Linked DNA regions of Homo sapiens: region 2 is linked to region 1. Evidence: promoter capture Hi-C in human tissues and cell types (Jung and others, 2019). All regions are on one chromosome and are shown on one strand. The core of a region is centred on a gene start or on the middle of the fragment in contact, and the rest is flanking DNA. Distances in the headings are between cores, read along the strand shown.

Region 1 (3,097 bases), core at 378-2,877:
GTTAAATTTTAATAAATACCCTATATATAGTTTATAAGTTTTCCTTCTATTGCTAGCTTTTATTAAGAATGATAATTTTATGGAATGCCTTGTGCTATTTGGTTCTATTCTCACTCATTACTCCTTAAAATCTGTAAATGGCATGTACTACATCAACTTTTCTCATTTTGAACCATCCCCGTGCTACTCAGATAACACCTGCTATCCTTCATCCCACTAATTTACTTCCACTGGATTGGGTGTTTCTCTTTCACTGCACAGATCACATGAACTTTTAATAATCTGTTCCTGCATCTATTTCCCAAATAATCTGACCATACTTTGATGAAGGCATATATCCTACCCTTTCTCCTGAGACTCAATGCACAGGACCTGGTAGCAAGGGTATCAGTGAATGTGCCCAAAACGAGTGCATGATTCCTAGAAGCTCTCATGAATCCCATACTCGCCTCTATTTCTAGTAATGGAGGACAGGAATTTGCTGTGCAGGGGGCATTGGGGAACAACTGCTTCCACTTTTCCTTTTCCCTAGTACAAAACAAATGTAAGCTACTACTATTATTGGCAACTGTAACTTGTAGCTCACCAGTTCCTCTAGCCCTGTCTAACTCAGTATATGGTTCCCAAAACAGGTCCCACCACCCCCAGCCCACTTCTTATGGTTTTTTGTTTTGTCTTAAATTTTAAGATTTTTTTTTTTAAGGCGGAGTCTCACTGTGATGCCCAGGCCAGAGCGCAATGGCACAATCTCTGCTCACTGCAACCTCTGCCTCCTGGGTTCAAGCAATTTTTCTGTCCCAGCCTCCCAAGTAGCTGGGACTACAGGCATGCACCACCATGCTGGGCTAATTTTTATATTTTTAGTAGAGACAGGGTTTCACCCTGTTGGCCAGGCTGGTCTCCTGACCTCAAGTGATCTGCCCACCTCGGCCTCACAAAGTGCTGGGATTACAGGCATGAGAGCCACTGTGGCTGGCCAAGAATTTACTTCTTATGTTTTAATTTTTGATATGTACAATACGTATTATGCAGCACAACAAAATGACTAGCTGTGTGTGCCTTTCCTATTGCATCTCTCTGCCTCTGGGAACCACCATCATTAATTATTATTGCCTTGCCATTTAAAAACTAGTTTTATCAACAAATAATTTGCTTTTTTGAGCTTTATGAAAATGATATACTACCTACAGTGTTCTGCAACTGGCTTCTACCACTCGATTATTTCAATTACTCAGCTATGTTGTTGCCTATGGCAACAGTTCATTCATTTCTACTATATAATATTCCATTGTGTGAAGAAAGTACATTCATCCCTTCTCCTATTCATGGATCAGAGACTTGGTTTCAGTTTTTTGTTCTGAAACAACGAAGCTACAAATGTTCTTATGTGTTTCTTGATGCACAGGTGGAGAAGTTTTTGCTGGGGCAGTGGCTTCTAAACTTTTTAGCTATCACCAAGAACGACCACCAGTAAACATACATATTGGAATGTATATAGAAATGTCAAACAAAAACTTATTCAAAAAATACCCTTACACAATACAGTTTGATCTTTTCTACTTGGCTGGTAGACCCGATGGACTGACTTTACAACCTTCTGGGTTTCAATCCTAAGAATCACTGTTCTAGGACTGAGCTTCCCCACAAGTGTGTCCAGGCACAGGTTATAGGTAACCCATGGCAAAATACTGATGCCTCAGCCCTCAGGGTAAAGCTTCCCTAGGTGCTGGGGCACAAGATATGTGCCTGTTCAACTACAAAACAAAAAAAAAGAGGATATTCTGCTGATAAACATTTATCAGTAGTATACAAGTGTTTCCACTGATACACACACTCACCAACATTTGCCCACTCTCTCCCTCACTATGGTATTGATTTGCATTTCCTTGATTGCCAATCAAGTTAAACATCTTCTCTTTTATGTTTATGGACCATTTCTTTCTTGTCTGTGAAATGCTTGTTCATAACATTGCCCATTTGTCTACTGGGCTATTTCTCTTTTTCATGCTGATTTGTAAGAATTCTGTTTTTTTTTTTTTTTTTGAGAGGGAGTCTTGCTCTGTTGCCCAGGCTGGAGTGCAGTGACATAATCTTGGCTCACTGCAACCTCTGCCTCCCGGGTTCAAGCAATTCTCATGCCTTAGCCTCCCAAGTAGCTGGGACTACAGGTGTGCACCACCATGCCTGGCTAATTTTTGTATTTTTTAGTACAAAATGAGACTGGGTTTTGCCATGATGGCCAGGCTGTTCTCAAACTCCTGACCTCAAGAGATCTGCCTGCCTCAGCCTCCCAAAGTGTTGGAATTACAGGCATGAGCCACCGTGCCTGGCCTGTAAGAATTATTGATAAATTCTGAATACAACAAATCCTTTGTTGGTTACCTGAATTCAAATGTCTTTTCCCAGTTTATGGTGTTTCCACTTTCTTTATGGTATCTATCCCCCTTTCAAACTGCACCAAGATACCCATAATGTTTGGTGGAACACCTCGCCATTTTGGGGTACACAAAAAGGAATGAGAGGGAGTGAGAGGCAAGTGGGAAAAGTTGTGAAGGAGCACTTCTAGACTCCTATGCTGAGACTGCTAAGGAGTCTGGAGTTTCCACTCTGGAGGTCCCCTTTCACACACTGGCTGGAACACACAATTACTGGAATAACAACAAAGCCTTTTTATCAAAGGGCACAAAGGGTCTGTCTGGGGCCTGCACACATCTCCAATGTGTTCCTACAGACAATAGGCCACTTGTGCTGGGCAATGACAAGCAAGGCCTGGGGAAAGCACAGCAAGAAGAAATGAACGCTGGGTTCACCACAGTGCACATGAACATCCACCTCCCTGCAACAGCAACCTCTAGGAGGCTGCTCAACAGGAAGAGAAAGAAATCTGCCAACCAGCAACCAACATGGAGGCTCAGGACAGATTAGGACTGGGGAGGTGAGCTCCAGGTCCTAACAAGCATTACACCAAAAATGTAACACAGTAAGTCTCTAACAGAGATCTATGAATGTATTTTTGGGTATCTGTGAATTCTTGAAATTTTTAATTTAGTTTTCATTTCGATCATAGCTGTTTTTTTTTTTTTTTAAAGTTATGGGT
Region 2 (2,812 bases), core at 213-2,712, 240 kb after region 1:
ATTCCCCTGGAGTCGGAGGCCAGGGCTTCAGAAGGGAAGCTGTGCTCGTGTGTGGCCAGAGCCTTTCTGGGTGCTGACCACCCCTACCTGCCCTCCCAATTCTCTTTCTCCTGAGCTCCCGCTCCCCATCACTGAGCCCAGCAGCCTCCTCTCCTCCTTCCTCCTTGGTTCCAAAGCCCAGCCCTCAAGGCCACGCCAAAGAGGCCCACACGCTGGCCCCTTCCCCTGCTTCAGGCCCAGCTGCAGATGTGGTGCAGGAGGGTAGGGGGCAACTAGGGACCTGAGCCAGCAAGGAGGGCCGGACTGGTCCCCAGGACCCAAGTCAGAGAGCCCCTGTCTCCCCAAGCCCTGAGCTCTATGTCACCATATGGACCTCCCTGGGCAAGTCCCAAGCCCCTCTCTGGCCTCAGTTTCTTCTTCTATAAGTGAAGGAGGTGACTCAGATGTTCCCCAAGGTTGGAGTTCTTAGTGTGGGGATCATAAAACTTTTTGAGAATCTGATTTAAGGCAGTGGAGCATCTTCCAAGGTAAAGATGCAGCGAGGACTCCTCCCTCCAACCTGCACCACTTCGTGTGCATTTCAGGGGATTGTGGAGTCCCTGACACCCATGCCCTGTTCTATGCTCATCCATACTATTCCTGGGTACCAAGCAGTTGCCAAGGTAAATATGGGATGTCCCCCTTCTAGGAGTTTGCAATCTAATAGTGCCAGAGGTGCTGGTCCTCATTCTGCCCCTAAGTCGCTGTGTGGCCTTGGGCTGGTCCCTTCCCTCTCTGGACCTCAGTTTCCTCCTCTGTGAGATGAGTGATGGAGAGATGAGGCCCTTACCGTGTGGGCCTGGCTGAAAAGGAAGCGCAGCAGGTCCTTGATGTTCTTGGCCTTGTCCCTCTGGAAGTGGACCACAGCCTGGGTGGGGCTGAAGCCTGTGGCCTGTGGCACCTCGGGCCAGCCCAGGTCCAGGTCTGGGGGGTCTATGTCAGAGGCCATGGGGAAGTAAGTCCCTGAGGTGACTTCAGAGAGCAGGCTGAGGCGGTCTGGCCCGGAGGCCTCCTGCCCCTGAGCCTCGCTGAGCTCAGGGCCCCCGCGCACATGGCTGGTCATGTAGTCCACATCCAGGGCGCTCAGGAAGGGCAGCTCCCGCTCCTCGGAGATGACCCGCAGGTAGGCAGCCTCACCCCGCTCCAGGAGGGCGTCGGCCGCCAGCCGAGCCGCCTCGCTGTGCCGCAGCACCAGCGGTGAGCTCTCCCGCCACCACGGCAGCTTCAGCTCTTCCACCCGGCCCCGCAGGGGTCCCGCCATGCCCTGGGCTCCCAGGACCCCAGGCCCCGGGCCTCCGAACATGCCTGCCACGCGGCTGCCTCACCCGCCGGCAGGGCCCATGGCCCGCACGCTGGGCTGGCTGCAGCAGGAAGAGGAGACCAGCAGAACCGCCTTCTGCCCGCCCGCTCGCTGTGTGTGTGGCAGGGCCCCCAAACTGTTGCCACCCTAAATCAGAGCCACGCTCCACCCTATTGCCCCTGGCCTCTGGAACCTGTCAGGTCAGCCCCACCTGTCTGCCTGTGTTGGGACTCGCCTGCCCAGGGAAGCGGCAGTGCCAGGCCCTCGGTGCACACTCCTGCCTCCCTCTCTTCCTCCCAGCAACGCCGCCCCATCCCCACCAGGCTCCCAGCAAGTCTCCAAATGCTGACTTCCCGGGACCCACAGAGGTTGAATTACAGCCAAGAGGGGCCCAGGCGACTCAGGAACACACACTCACACGCACACGCACACACACTGCAGGTGGGTGAGCGACTCAAGACACCCAGGAAAAGACATGAACACCCATGCAGATGGACACACTGACAACTGACCGATACACAGACATGGAGTGTGGGCTGACACAGACCGACCACACATTGTAATCACATCCACTTGCATAAACTCTTCACCCAAACGCCGATGTAGAGACCGGCCATGACCCCCACAACACATACCACAGTGGATAGCACGTGCCCTGGCTCAAGTCTGCAAGGCCCTGAGAGCTGAACGACTGTCACATGGAATATCCAAGGACATCAACGCTGGTCTGTCCCCCAGCCAGCCCTCTTTTTGCTCCCATAATCGTCCTGCCACTCTCCATCATCTTAACTGTGGTGCTCACAGCCCCCTGGCTCTCTCCCACCCCGGCTCGGAGCTGTCCTTCAAGAACCTAGAGCAGTGGCTCTCACCCTGACCCCAGGGGTGGTGAGAGGTGATGAAATGCAGATCCCCGGGCCCCACCCTCCTGGAAATTCTCATCCAGAAGGTGTCCGTAGGCTTCTGGAGCTTGTCTTTTTTCTTTTTCTTTTTGAGATAGGGTCTTGCTCTGTCACCCAGTCTGGAGGGCAGTGGCGCAATCACAGCTCACTACAGCTGTGCCTCAGTTTCTCTGGACTCGAGCGATCTTCCCACCTCAGCCTCCTGAGTAGCTGGGATTACAGGTGCATGTTACCATGCTCGGCTACTTTTAAAATTTTTTTAGAGATGGGATCTCACTATGTTGCCCAGGCTGATCTTGAACTCCTGGCCTCAAGCAATCCTCCTGTCTCAGCCTCCCAAAGTGCTGGGATTACAGGTGTGAGCCGCCACACCTGGCCATTTTTCTTTTTTAATTGAGACATGATCTTGCTCTGTCACCCAGGCTAGAGAGAGCAGTGATGTGATCATAGCTTACTGTAACCTCAAATTCCTGAGTTTTTAAACAAGTGCCCAGTGCACTGTGGGCAGTGGGCTAAGGCCCACCCCTGAGACATGCTGTTCCAGATGGCTGTGCTTGCAACACCCTTAACTCCA

Evidence for each region. The method cuts DNA at HindIII sites, captures the fragments that hold promoters and counts their contacts. A contact is called where the count stands out against the background at its distance.
Region 2: the fragment with the promoter of FAM83C here is called in contact with a fragment that was not itself captured in region 1 in 1 of the 25 tissues and cell types used here (aorta).

What each region holds. Positions count from the first base shown.
Region 1 is chr20:35,046,187-35,049,283 of GRCh38, forward strand. All of the region lies in intron 6 of TRPC4AP (transient receptor potential cation channel subfamily C member 4 associated protein), which reads right to left. Among named protein-coding and RNA genes, the nearest start is that of TRPC4AP, 45 kb to the right of the region's middle. The HindIII fragment of the contact is 4,051 bases long and covers 1-3,097 here.
Region 2 is chr20:35,290,963-35,293,774 of GRCh38, forward strand. It overlaps FAM83C (family with sequence similarity 83 member C), which reads right to left and starts at 1,463. Exons shown (of 4, transcript NM_178468.6): 1 at 830-1,463. The coding sequence starts at 1,342. The HindIII fragment of the contact is 12,597 bases long and covers 1-2,812 here.